Regions from separate parts of the Homo sapiens genome. Here all the other regions are linked to region 3. Evidence: promoter capture Hi-C in 16 types of primary human blood cells and fetal thymus (Javierre and others, 2016). All regions are on one chromosome and are shown on one strand. The core of a region is centred on a gene start or on the middle of the fragment in contact, and the rest is flanking DNA. Distances in the headings are between cores, read along the strand shown. Region 1 overlaps CBARP (CACN subunit beta associated regulatory protein). Region 2 overlaps LOC105372236 (a long non-coding RNA gene). Region 3 holds the start of ABCA7 (ATP binding cassette subfamily A member 7). Region 4 holds the start of MIDN (midnolin).

What was found. The method cuts DNA at HindIII sites, captures the fragments that hold promoters and counts their contacts. A CHiCAGO score of 5 or more calls a contact.
Region 1: a fragment that was not itself captured here is called in contact with the fragment with the promoter of ABCA7 in region 3 in 1 of 17 cell types (monocytes); the score reaches 5.5 in monocytes.
Region 2: a fragment that was not itself captured here is called in contact with the fragment with the promoter of ABCA7 in region 3 in 1 of 17 cell types (total CD4 T cells); the score reaches 5.3 in total CD4 T cells.
Region 4: a contact is called between the fragment with the promoter of MIDN here and the fragment with the promoter of ABCA7 in region 3, in 17 of 17 cell types (neutrophils, monocytes, M0 macrophages and 14 more). The highest score is 20.5, in neutrophils.

Annotation. Positions count from the first base shown.
Region 1 is chr19:1,229,027-1,232,306 of GRCh38, forward strand. CBARP (CACN subunit beta associated regulatory protein) reads right to left here. Exons shown (of 10, transcript NM_001393918.1): 9 at 2,075-2,249; 10 at 1-1,116. The coding sequence ends at 153. Among named protein-coding and RNA genes, the nearest start is that of CBARP-DT, 7.3 kb to the right of the region's middle. The HindIII fragment of the contact is 3,711 bases long and covers 1-3,108 here.
Region 2 is chr19:1,263,308-1,266,522 of GRCh38, forward strand. LOC105372236 (a long non-coding RNA gene) reads right to left here. Exons shown (of 3, transcript XR_936233.3): 1 at 1,206-3,215; 2 at 123-252. It also overlaps LOC107985303. Among named protein-coding and RNA genes, the nearest start is that of CIRBP, 4.4 kb to the right of the region's middle. RefSeq lists enhancers at 104-193, 234-283 and a silencer at 3,012-3,215. The HindIII fragment of the contact is 2,763 bases long and covers 167-2,929 here.
Region 3 is chr19:1,038,147-1,041,356 of GRCh38, forward strand. It overlaps ABCA7 (ATP binding cassette subfamily A member 7), which reads left to right and starts at 1,961. Exons shown (of 47, transcript NM_019112.4): 1 at 1,961-2,050; 2 at 3,079-3,210. CNN2 (calponin 2) reads left to right here. Exons shown (of 7, transcript NM_004368.4): 7 at 1-919. RefSeq lists enhancers at 1-526, 114-615, 616-1,115, 3,008-3,210 and a silencer at 2,957-3,096. The HindIII fragment of the contact is 29,553 bases long and covers 1-3,210 here.
Region 4 is chr19:1,246,947-1,250,118 of GRCh38, forward strand. MIDN (midnolin) reads left to right here and starts at 1,637. Exons shown (of 9, transcript NM_001388306.1): 1 at 1,637-1,714; 2 at 2,944-3,172. LOC102723811 (a long non-coding RNA gene) reads right to left here and starts at 1,126. Exons shown (of 2, transcript XR_007067082.1): 1 at 1,067-1,126; 2 at 1-915. RefSeq lists silencers at 1,091-1,630, 1,721-2,180, 2,241-2,360, 2,391-2,860, 3,041-3,090 and 1 more and an enhancer at 1,714-2,247. The HindIII fragment of the contact is 31,339 bases long and covers 1-3,172 here.

The sequences.
Region 1 (3,280 bases), core at 3-2,502, 190 kb after region 3:
GCGAGCGCGCCTCCGTCGCCCGGCGCGTGCGCGAAGGGCCCGCGGTCCCCGCGCATTCGCGTCGGGGCGTCGCGCCCCCACGTCTCTCCCGCCGCCGAGGCCCCGTGCGGCGCCGGAGAAGCTGCCAGAGAGATGGGCCCAGGACGCGGGACTTAGGCCGGGCTGTGGTCGGGGGACGTGGGGGCGGCGGCGACCAACGCGGGAGTCGCCACGACGGGCTCGGCGAGGCGCGGCGGAAAGAGTCTCTCGTCGAGGCCAGCCGCCAGCTTGTCCAGCACCGACCCGGATGGTAGGACGCACAGGCCCGAGCCGGGGCACCCCCCGCCGCCCGGCTCCTCCTCGATGACGGGGATGGCGGGGTCGTCGCCGGCGCCGCCCAGGGTGCGACCGTCGGGCGGGCCGTCCACGCTGTCGCCGCGCCGCAAGGGCGCACGCGCGGGTCGGGCCGCGCCGGCAGGCGGTGCCGGGGTTCCGGCCAGGGCCGGGGCCGCGCGGGCGCCGGGGTCGCTGTGCTGCCGGCCACGCTGCCACTGTTTGCGGGCGTGCGGGTGCGCGCGGGCGCGGTGTCGCGCGGCAGCCGGCGTGTCGTCGAAGTGCGGGTCGTGGCGCAGGAACTCGTGGAACAGCGCGTCCGTCTTCTCGTCGATGCTGTAGTCGCGGCGCGGGCGGCGGGGCCAGGCGCGCGGGCTGCGGGGCCGGGCGGGCGCGGCAGGTGGCTCGGTGTCGTCGCCTGCGCCGCGGCCCTCGATGCTGGCGTAGCCACTGTCCATCTGCAGCAGCCGGCGCGCCTCGCCGTCCTTGGGCCGCGGCGCGGGCGGGGAGGGCGGCGGGAAGGCGGGCGCCGCGCCCCCGGAGCCTGAGCCCGAGCTGTCGCCGCTGCGCACCGAGTCGCGGTCGTTGCCGCTGCTGCTGTGGTCCGAGGCGGCCGCATGCAGCTCAAGCGAGGCGCGCAGGCTCCACAGGTCGCGGTAGCTGGTCTGGGCCTGCTCGGGGCCCGCGTCCCGCTCGGCGTCCGGCTCCAGTGGCGGCTGCTGCTGCTCAGGCCCCGCGCTGCCCGCGCCGCGCTCCGGGGGGGAATCGGGGCTCGCTCCTCCCGCTGCCTCGGCCGCCTCTAGCCTGCAAGCCAGGCCGCGCCGTCAGAGCCCCGCCGAGCCCCGCGCCCCCTACCCGGCCGGCCATCCCGCCTCTGGATCAGGGAGGGTGGACGCGGGTGGGACTTGGGACTCGGGCGGGCCTTGGAAGGTGAGAGCTTTAAAATGAGCCAGTGTGTTTTGCAGGGGATGCGTCTTGCATTGACCCTGAGCTGTGGCGCCTGCTTATTAAGCAGGGTGCCTCCATGCTGGACTGCAGACGGCGGGGCCCCCTCCCTTGGAAGCCCCCAGGAAAAGTCAACATGCTTCTCTCCGGGAGTCACGTTTTCCCAGCCTCCCAGTGGACGTGGGAGCCGCAGGGGATGGACTGGACGCGGTTGAGTCCAGCTCAGCCCCTGCTCCAGGCTAGGGCTCTCTGCCCACCCATGCTGGATAACCAGCAGGAGGACAGTGCACAGACGTGAGGGTCACCCGCCATACCAGGGCTGCCCCAGGAACCCTGCTCTGCCCCAGCCCCACGCCCCATTCCCATCCCACCGACGTGGGCCCTGGGCTTCAGGGAAGTTGCCCTTGGGTTGGGGGAGGGGTGCTGCTGGCCGGAGTGGTCACAGCAGCTTCTGAGAGGAGTCTGCCCAGCCTTGGGAGCATGGGCGGGGCGGGGGTGGGAGAGGGCCTGGGACCACAGCAGAACCCTTCAGGCCTCGGACTCCACCAGCAAGCAGCAGTACCAGCGCCATCCTCGGGGGGCCCCTCCTCCCCACCCACCGCCCTACCCTTACCCAGTCTCTCCCTGCTTCCCTCCTCTGGTCCATGCTGGAGAGGTGGCCCCAGTGAGTCCGCCTCTGGGAGGGGCCTTGCCGCTGGAGGCAGGCGAGCGCGTGTCCACGGGGCCTGGAGAGCGCTCCCTGGGCCGCCTAGGGGGGGGCGAAGGGGGGCAAGGGCCCACAGGTCCACCCCTAGCACCTCCATCTACTGAAAAATACCTGCCGAGAGCAGGGGGCGGGCTGGCCAGAAAGGGGCGGGGGTGCGGGAAGGCCACGGCGTCGCCCGCCCGGGCAATGTACTGGATGAAGTCCTCCTGGGGGGCATCCCCCTCCTCCTGCTCCGTGCTCTCACTGGCTGCCCGCTGCCGCTGGAAGTGGTGCCGCTTGGGGGAACCTGCGCACGGGATGTGCCGTAAGCGTCAGCCGGCATGTGCCTCCACCCGCTCCACACACACACAGAATGCCTATGCCCCCCCGCCACACACACACAATGCCTGTGCCCCCCCGCCACACACAACGCCTGTGGACCCCCACCACACACACACAACGTGTGCCCCCCACACATACAACGCCTGGGCCCCCCCCACACACAGAACGCCTGTGGCCCCCATACACACACATAGAACGCCTGTGCCCCCCACCACAGAACGCCTGTGGCCCCCTCACACACACACGCCTGTGCCCCCCCCACAGAACGCCTGTGCACCCCCCATGCCTGTGCCCCCCCCACAGAATGCCTGTACCCTCCTACACACAGAACACCTGTGGCCCCCACACACACACAACGCGTGTGCCCTGTCTCTGTCTCACACACACAGGAGTGGGCCCTGGCTTGGGCCAGACCCTGGCTGGCATCTCCCCGGGTCAGGTGGGTGCGGACAGTGGCTGTGTGTACACCCTGGAGTACAGGTGAGAAAACTGAGGCACGGAGGGAAGAGGTGCTGGGACCAGAGAGCCTGAGCAGGGCAGGGCCAGGAAGCGAGTGAGTGGAAGGGCCTCTGGCACCGATAGTGCCTTGTGGCAGCCCTGGTCAACATGTGGCCACTCATAAGGGCGTGTCCTGGACACCTGGTGGCCTGCACAGCCTGGCTGAAACTACGGAAGGCATGAGAGAGTCACATACAGGCTGGTGGGGGCCAACGAGGAGAGGGAGAGAGGTGCCCTCTCCTGCCAGCTCCACCCTGGTCTGGAGAGCGCTGGGGGACTGCCCCACCCCTGCCTCGGCCCCCTTCTCCCAACAGCCTCCCCAGCAAAGCTTGAGTGGGCAGGCCCCAGCAAACAGGTTCTGGGATGTGCTGCAACCACATTGGACTCTAAATGTCTCTAGTCACCCCTGGGCCCCATTCATTTCAAGATCTGGATTCTCTCAGCTGGAGCGGGGCAGCCAGAGGAGGCCTTCCCCTCCCTGGCCCCTAGCTACCTTGG
Region 2 (3,215 bases), core at 298-2,797, 220 kb after region 3:
TGTCACCAGATACAAAGAGGGCCCTGACCAGATACAGAGAGGGCAGCAGCCTTCCCCCACAACCAACACACGCCTGGGCGGGGGCAGGAACACCCCCAGGGCCTCCAGCCACAGACACTCACCCACTCACCCCTCTGTGCACCAGTGATCCTCCGCTGCCCAGCCAAGCTTGACTCCAGCCTGCTGGAGTCTGGGTGGGGGATGGAGAGGGGTTCCCAGGCGAGCCCCAACCTATGCCTTCCAAAAGTCTTTCTGTGCATGTTGGAAATACAAATGAAACAGGAGAGTTAGCATACGGGACAATTATTATTTTTGTTTGTTTTTGTTTTGAGACGGAGTCTCGCTCTGTCGCCCTGGCTGGAGTGCATTGGCGCGATCTCGGCTCACCGCAACCTCTGCCTCCCGGGTTCAAGTGATTCTCCTGCCTCAGCCTCTGGAGTAGCTGGGATTACAGGCGCCCGCCACCACGCCCGGCTAATTTTTGTATTTTTTTAGTAGAGACGGGCTTTCCCCATGTTGGCCAGGCAGGTCTCGAACTCCTGATCTCAAGTGATCTGCCTGTCTCGGCCTCCTAAAGTGCTGGGATTACAGGCGTGAGCTACAGCATCCAGCCCAATTTTATTTATTTTTAGTAGAGAAGGGATTTCACCATGTTGGTCAGGCTGGTCTCAAACTCCTGCCCTCAAATGATCCACCCGCATTGGCCTCCCAAATTGCTGGGATTACAGGTGTGAGCCACCACACCTGGCCCCAGTTATTAGTATTTTCGAGACGGGGTCTCACTCTCTTTCCAGGCTGGAACGCAGTGGCTCCATCACAGCTCACTGCAGCCTCGCTGGAACTCCTGGGCTCAAGCGATCCTCCTGCCTCAGCCTCCTGAGTAGCTGGGACTACAGGTGAGCACCACCATGCCCAGCTAATTTTGCTTTTTTTTTTTTTTTGTAGAGACAGGGTCTAGCTATGTTGCCCCGGCTGGTATCAAACTCCTGGACTCAAACGAAAGTGCTGGGATTCCAGGCATGAGCCAGCGCTCCCGGCCTGCATACGGGATGATTCCATGTGGACTGCCACATCAAGGAAGCAAACAACAAGGAAAGCCTGGCGCTGCGTGGAGCTGTCTTTTGCTGCTAACTGCCCTTGACCGACTTCCTACCAGGTCTTCCCTGTGCGCCTCTAACCCCAGGAGGTGCTGCTGGCATGCCCACCTCTCAGATGAAGCAGTGCGGTCCAGAGAGCGTCTTGGGCACCGCCTGCCTCACAGCTGGGCCCCTGACCCTCCAGGGACTGTGGCTGAGCAGCCATGGCTGCCTGGACGGGTGTCCCCTGGCCCGTCTGTCCGTCTGGATGTGGGAACCCTCCAGGCACGCTGGGGCGGGCAGGTGCCAGGTGCCTCTCCAGCAAGATGCAACATAGGTGTCTTCACTTGCACTCCGTAGGTCCTGAGCCCCTGCAGCTGCCTGGGAGAGTGGGGAAATACTCTCCACTTGTCCCACTCCACTGTTGCCATGGAGATACCTCCCACCCTAGGCAGGGCCACCCTGAGCCTGGTTGGCTTTGCAGGAAATCCCCACTCTTTGACCTCTCTGTTAGGCACAGGACGTGTAGTCCCATGAGAGGGAACTGGGCCCAGGTGGAGATCCATCCGCCTACCCCAGAGCGCGCATCTGTTGCTAAGCAACATCTGAGGCTGCATGGAGGTGGGGGCTCCGGAGCCCCCAGACCTTTTCCCAGTTTCAGAAACTAGGTGGCTGCATCCCCAGCGTCCACGCAGGCGAGCCTAAGCCTCGGTCAGCTTTAGGGTGTCCGTGGGCCATGCAGGGTCTTGGGCCTTTCACAGACACCTGATCTGCACGTCACAGACACGCATGGGTGCACGTCACTACACGTCCGCCACATGTGCTTGGCTGGTCTGCGCCCCAGCAGAAGGGGTCACCTATGTCTCTGCAGTATCCTGTGTACTGAAAGAGCAAACAGGTGTGTGACCCCAGGGCAGGTCGGGGTCCGTCCTGTCCCCAGCCTGTCTACTGCGTGTGCCTGTGGCAGGCAGGGTCTCCGGATGCCGAGTGCATGGTGTATGACTTTGTGTCCAGTGGGTACGAAGCAGGGGTGTGGGTGTGCACCTGTGTGTGGCCTGTGGCGGGGTGTGTGTGCCGGGGATGTCCCTCTGTGGCCCAGGCCTGGCCTTTGGGCTGCTGGGATGGCCTGGCCGGGGCAGGAGTAGACAGGGCCTCCCAGCCTCCACATTCCTGAGCTGTGACTCAGGCCTGTGGGGAGGGGGTGAGTCACAGGGAAGGGAAGCCGACCCACCCTGCGAACGCATCCGAGGAACAGGAGGGAAACTGAGGCTGGGGAGCAGCTCAGTCCGGCTTTCCTGTGTAGCAGCCCCTGAATCTCAGGCCCGGGGGTGGGGCGGGGTGGCGGGGGGGGGCGCGCGGGGCCTCCCAGGGGACCTGAGATCCCAGCCCTGGACTCAGCTGGGAGCTGGGGGAAGAGGCAGGTTTAACCCTTCCTCTTCTGGGCTTCTGGAACTCTGGGCTGCCCTGGGAGGCGCGGCTCCCGCTGACACAGCACGCGTGCCCACCCCAGGGACATGAGTCACAGCACCAGGCATGGACACATATGCTCTGTGGGTCCCGGCACACCCGAGTCACGCACACCCAGCCCTGTCCCCGGCTGCCCCCACATCCACATCCGGATAAGCGCACACTTTGGAGTCCAAGCGCCCACCTCCTTGGGTTGCACACACAGCGCCACGCAGACGGGTTCCTGTGTCTTTGCACACACGCGGGTGCCGGGGGCTCTGTGCACACACCTCCAAGACTGCGTGCACGCCCCTATATGCCCTGCGCACCGACGCAGGCCGGCCTGGGGTCCCTGCACTCACCACGCCGTGTGCACTCGCACATAGCTACACATTCGTGTCCACACAAGCTTGTGTCTCTGTACTCTGCCCACGGGCACACATGTGCGCCACACCTGGCAACCCGCACGCCCGGTCTCTGCATCCCCCACCCTGGCTCTGGGCCCCGCGTAGTGGGGCCAGCTGGGTCGGCTGCAGCCTCTGCCAGGACGGTCCTATTTCTGCGCCCCCGCGGGGCGGCCGCCAGGTGCACGGTCCCGGCCCCCGCCTGGCTAGGAGGAGGCGGTAATTATGCGGCCCCGGGGTCCCCCCCACGCGCCTTTCATCCTCGGCCACGCCCGTCGCAGGCCTAGAC
Region 3 (3,210 bases), core at 711-3,210:
TCCCTGCTGGCACATTCAGGCTGTGCTGGGAAGAAGAGACCTGGGCTTGGAAGGAACCGGTCCCCGACGGTTTCTGCTTGCCTCGCCTCTTCCCCCTTTTGTCAGCTGAGCAGTTTGTGGTTTCTATGCCCGCAAGTTTCAGGAAGTATTCACAAAAGAAAAATACATTTTTTCCCCCAGGGGTGGGGCAAGGACAGTGGAGAGAGTGCTAGGAAATGAGTCCCCTGGGAAAGGGGACCGGGCCGTGATGTTAAATATCTCCGGCTCCCAAGTGACTGGATTTGCCTAGGACCTTCAGACCAACAGACTTCAGACCCTCAGACCTGCCCCGGGGCCAGGTGGAGAAAGTGAGGGCCGTACAAGGAAGTGAAATTCTGAGTTGTTGGGGCTAAGCCTGACCCCCTCTCCATGCTCCCCGCCCCAACCCACTCTGGCCTCAGTAGATTTTTTTTTCAGTTGTGGTTGTTGCCCAGGCTGGAGTGCAGTGGCGCCATCTTGGCTCACTGCACCTCCACCTTCCGGGCTCAAGCGATTCTCCAGCCTCAGCCTCCTGAGTAGCTAGGACTGCAGGTGCTCCACCACGCCCGGCTAATTTTTGTATTTTTAGTAGAGATGGGGTTTCCCCATGTTGGCCAGGCTGGTCTCGAACTCCTGGCCTCAGGTGTGATCCGCCCGCCTCCGCCTCCCCAAGCGCTGAGATTACAGGTGTGAGCCACCGTGCCCAGCCCCTCAGTAGGTTTTAAGGAGCCCCCAGCCCTCCTCCCTTCTGGGCCCGACCAGCTTATACTGCTCCATCTTCCCCGGCCACATGCCCCGCCAAGTACTGCACAGGGACCCCCCACCCAGGGGACCTGCTCCGTGAGATAATGTGAAATACGACTGTGGACCAAACGCAATAAAACCTCTGTTTGTACGAAGAGAAGGTGGCCAAGAGAGTTGGCGTCGATGAGGGCGTGCTTTGCTTTGATGCTTTTGTGGGGAGAGAGGAGGTCTTGGGGGATGGGGGGATCAAGGGGAAAATGTCCACCTCACCATTGGGAGGAGGAGCAAAAGCTGAAGCCACAGGTGAGTCTGGGTGGAATGAATGATTTGAAGGGCCGGGACTTGGGGTAGAGGGAGAGGCTGGGCTTCCTGGCCATTTGGAGAAGAGGCAGTTCCCTCAAATGCCCCCCATGCGCTTTGGCTGCACTCTACCTTACAGCGCAAGTCTCGTGGCCTCAGCCTGGATGTCTCCCCGTTGGCGAACTCCTATTTATCCTCAAAGCCCCAACGGCAATGCCACCTCCTGCCGCGGGAGCCGTCCCCACGCCTCTCACTCTCCCCAGCGCCTTCAAAGCTGTGGACCCACACGCTCCCATTTCAGCTTCACCTCCAGCCTGAAGAGTTTATTTCAACTCTTCTTCCAGAGTGGGAAACGGGTTTTCCTCAAAATCAGGGTAGCCACTATAATCGGAGACTCTAGAATGTTGGCCCCCTCCCCCTCCTGCCATCCTCTGCAGAAGCCGAGGAGCGTTCGTGGAATGAATGAATGAACGAATGATCTAGTGGAACCCCTACTTTACAGACGGACGAGTGTAGTCCCAGAGTCTGGACTAAACTAGAGGGAGCCTGGCCAGCCCCGGGGACAGCGGGGACAGAGGGAACTCCTGCAATTCGGAGCTGCGGTATTGCAGCCGGTTATACAACGTGGGGAGGCAGCCTGGCTCCCCAAAGACAGCGCAGCCTCGTTCCCGGAGGGCGGCCTGCCTGGGACCTGCCGGGCACTCCGCCACCCTACGGTGATGCAGCAAGAGCCGCGCGGTCCCTTTAAGAAACCCGGCTAGGCGAGGCCCTTCTGTGATCCCGTCTCCTCCCTTGGCCCGCGCAGCTCCGACGGAGCAGGCCAGTGAGTGACGGGCAGGTCGCCCAATAGCAGCGTGCAGAGGCAGGGGCGTGCCCCGGCGCTGCTACCTGCGCGGGCAAGCTCAGCGCACTTGGCTTAAGGGGCGGCGCGCTCCCTGCCTGCTGCTGGGCGGAGGGAAGGCGGCAAGAGCTGCGGAGCCCCTGGAAGGTGAGAAGGACTCGGAGAGGGAAGAAGGCCCGAGACTCGAGAATGCGGGGTTGGGGCCGGGAGGGATGCAAGTTCCCTGGGAATTAGGGGGTCCAGCCTCTGACCTCCTTCCGGTGAATGTTGACGACGGCTGAATTGATCACTGATTCTCAAGGGGGGCATCGGACATCTGGGACCCTTAAGAGGGCCTTTGCCGATCACACACCTGCAGCCCCCTGCCCGTTAGAACTCCTGCACTCCCCCTTGCCCCGTCTTACAAATGGAGAAACTGAGCCCACTCCCCCAGATCCTAAGTCCCGCTTGATGTAAAGGAAAGAACCCTGGCGTAAGGGTCTGGGTCTGAGGTCCCAGTTCCGGCCTGGTCACCTTTAGCAACTTCCTGCCCCTCTGTCAGCGTCAGATTCTCCATCTGTGTCAGAGGTGGACCGGCCCAAGGAAAATAGATCAGGAATCGCTGACTCCAGGAGTCTCTATCCCAGCCCCTTCGCCTGACTCTTTCTCTGGCTCCCGCGGTCCCTCTGAGCGATTAATGCTACATAAGGTGTGGGCAGAGCTGGGGTCGTGCCTCCAGCTGGGCAACTGCCTGTCTCTCTGGGTGCCTGGGTTTGCTTTCTTGGGCCTCGGTTTCCACTTCTGTAGAGTGGGGTGATAGTCCAGCACTTCCCCTGGGCGTGTGAAATGTCCAGCACTGCCAATATTCGTTGCTGTTATCTTCGGAGAACAGTGAGGGGAAAGGAATCCTTGCCTGGGCTGGGCCAGGCAGGAGGCTGGGGGTCAGGACCTGGAAGAGGCTTCCAGGTGAGGCTTGGGGTGGAGCCTGGTGACGAAAGCGTTAAGCCCAAACTCGGTCCCTGGAGGATTAGAGGATGATCTTTAAGTCCCCAGCTGTCAGCCCTGCTCAGAGCGACAGTCCTGGCAGCCAATCAGATGCGAGGACGGCTGCGGGTTGCGCTCCCATTGGTTTACTCCACCCCTGGGGTAGCGGAGCCTCTTTATCGAGTGACTACTGTTTGCCTCGCTCTAATCAGAGCTTCCAGGAACCCTGCGCTGTGGGATAAAGGAATGAGGTTCAGAAAGGGGCAGGGAGTTGCCCGCAGCCGCACCGCACGTCTTCAGCCCGACCGTTGTCCTGACCTCTCTGTCCCGTCCCCTGCCCAGTC
Region 4 (3,172 bases), core at 387-2,886, 210 kb after region 3:
CAGCCTCCCAAGTAGCTGAGATTACAGGCGCACATCACCACGCCTGGCTAATTTTTGTGTTTTTAGTACAGACAGGGTTTCACCATGTTGATCAGGCTGGTCTCGAACTCCTGACCTCGTGATCCGCCCGCCTCGGCCTCCCAAAGTGCCAGGATTACAGGCATGAGCCACCGCGCCCGGCCTTTTTTTTTTTTTTTTTTTTTTTTGAGACGGAATCTCGTTTTGTCGCTCAGGCTGGAGTGCCCTGGCACGATCTGGGTTTATTGTAACCTCCGCCTCCCGCGTTCAAGCGATTCTCCTGCCTCAGCCTCCTGAGTAGCTGGGACTACAGACACATGCCACCATGCCCAGCTAATTTTTGTATTTTTAGTAGAGACAGGGTTTCACCATGTTGGCCAGGCTGGTCTCAATCTCTTGACCTTGTGATCCGCCCGCCTCGGCCTCCCAAAGTGCTGGGATTACAGGCGTGAGCCACCGCGCCCGACCGCATCATCTTTTTTATGTGACAAACTCCTAGTCATTCCTCAAACCGCAGCCCCTGTGACCCCCTTCCAAGGGTTATCCCAGCCTCTCCCTCTCTGGCCTAGCCCTGACCCTTCGGGGCTGGGTGTGCCTGTCAAGGTGGGGGCCACGGCTGCCGGGAGCATGGGTGGCAGCCGGAAGGAGACCTGGGGAGGAGCGCAGCCCTGGGAGGGGCGCCCATGGCCAGGGTGGGGGTGGAGGTGGTCAGGCCAGATAAAGGGAGGGGCCAGATGAGTGGACAGGAGGTGCTCCCGTAGGAATGGGGTCCCCTTCTCTAAATAGAGGGGCAGGACGGGGCCCACCTCAACCAGGACCATCCTCAAAAAGCCGACGGGGAAGGGTGAGATGCACACCACATTCGTGTCTCATTGGCTGTGGCCTCAGTTTCTTCATCTGTAAAATGGGGTAATGCCCACCCCAAAGGCTGGGAACCAGTGCATGTCCTGCATTAATGGGGGGTGATGGCCCCAAAGTGATCCTGCCGCATCCCCTCACCACACTCCCACCCACCCTGGAGAAACTGAGGCTTGGAGAGGCCAGTTACCTCCCGGGGTCACAGCATAGCCGGCTGGTGACTGGCTGGGCACAAGGCAGGCCTGGCACTGGCTAATCGCTCCATAAATGCCCTCTGAGGTCACCATTGACAGATGCAGGAGGCCAGGGCTGGCCAGGGCACCCCCACTCTACGGCAGGTGACTCCAGCCTGTTTTCCTGGACGACAGCCGCTGACTCAGGCCCCTCTTCCCGTCCCCCCCACGCGGGCGCCCCCAGGCGGAAGCACCGGGCCTGGGGCGACAGGAAGGGGGCGGGGCAGCGAGTCGCGCTGTACACCCCAAAACCCTGTCCCGCTGACGATTCGGGGTGCATCTCAGCCCGCGGCGAGGCGGGCCGAGACCCTTGGCTCGGGGCATTCAAGGGGAGTCCCCCCATGAACTGCGCCAAGCCTGGGTCCCGGGTGGCCCAGCCGTCAAGGCGCCCCAGGGCCAGGGCCGGCAGGCAGGGGCGGGGGCCAGTCTGCGTCACCGCCCGCCCGGCCCCCCGCCCCCCTGCCCGCCCTAACTCCACCCCGAGGGAAGGCGGCGCGGATAAAGGCTGAGGGCCGCGCGCTTGGCCCAGACCGGCCCGGCCAGCGCGCATTCGGCCCCGGACGAAGGTACTCGCAGCACTTGGAGCGCAGAACCGGCCGCGCCCGGTGAGTGTGGAGGGGGGGGACCTGCGGGCCGAGGAAGGGTGCCCACTCTAGATGGCTCAGGATGCCCGCACTTTTCTTTGTTCTTGGGACAGGAGGGATCGGGGAGCCTCCGGTCCTGGGAAGCCCCCCGGGGTGCGGGGTGGGAGGGGCTCCGCGCAGCCAGCGCCGCCCTGGCCGGACCTCAGCCCCCGCCCCGCCCCCCGGGGCACTCCCCCTTCACCGCGGGTGACCTTGAACTGGTTGCCGTTCCGCCCTCCGTTGCCCAGCCACACGGTCCCAGTCTCCCGACTACAGTCTTTCGTTCCCGATCGGGGTTCCTCCCCCGCGCGCAGCCCAGTCGTCTTCCTCCCCTGCCAGGGGCAGCGCGGCGCCCCCTCCCCGGGACTCCGGGCGGCGCTCCCAGGCGGGCCCGGCAGAGGGCGCGCCCGAGCTGCTGACTCACCGCATCCCCGAGCGCGCGCGGGCGCAGCCGGGGACGCCGCGTCACGTCACGGCTCGAGCGGGCGCGCCTCGGGGAAACGGGTTCTGCCCGCGGCCGGCGGGTGGGCGCGCGGGGCCCCCGGCGGCAGCCACCCGGCCACGTCACCGAGGTGCGGGCGCCCCGCCCCGGCCACAACTCCGCCCCCACGCACCACGCCCTCCCCGGGGCCGCGGCCCTAGCCTCACCGTCGCCCGCCCGCCCCGGGACCCCGGCCACGAGGCGCGGACTTCGCGCTCCCGCTTCCGCTCGCGGCTTTTCCCGGACGAAGGCGGCGGGGTGGCCCCACGACTTCCTGCCCCTCCCGGCGCCGGGAACAATGGCCCGCGCCCCCTCCCGCTCCCGGCCGCTCCCTTGGGATCGCGAGGGGTACCAGACCCGTCTCCAGACCTGGGTCCCGCGCCCCCCGGGGCGCGCCCGCCCTTTGTTGCGGGCTCCGGGCGCTTATGAATGGCTGCGGGCGCGGGCGGGGCGGGGGCGGGCGCGGAGAGGCGCCAGCCCCGCCCCCGCTGCGCTCCCCTTGGTCGCCTGGGCGCTGGGGGCGGGGCGAGGGGGCGGGCCCGGCTGCCACGTGGGGCGGTGCCGCGGCGGCTCTCATAGGCCCGGGCTCGCGGCCGACTGGGCGCTCGGCGCGCGGCGATTGGCCGGCGCCCGGCCGGCGGAGTAAGTAGTGAATGGGAGGGGGCGGCGGCCCCGCCCCCTGGAACGTTGATACATTATAACTTTTTTTTCTTGTTACTTTCACCCCCAGATCCTCCGAGCGGCGGCGACGGCTGTTGCTAAGGGAGGGGACGCGCGAGGAAGCGCGACCCGGGCGGCAGACGGCACCCAGCGCCACCAGCCGAGCGGCGCCCCCTCCCCAGGACCCTTAACCGCGCCGCGTCCCGGTCGCGCCCGCCGCCCTTTGAAGGAGAAGCAAGTGCCGTCCCCACCCCCGGAAGGCGCCCCCAGGAGCCGGAGCGACCTCGGAGCGCCACTCG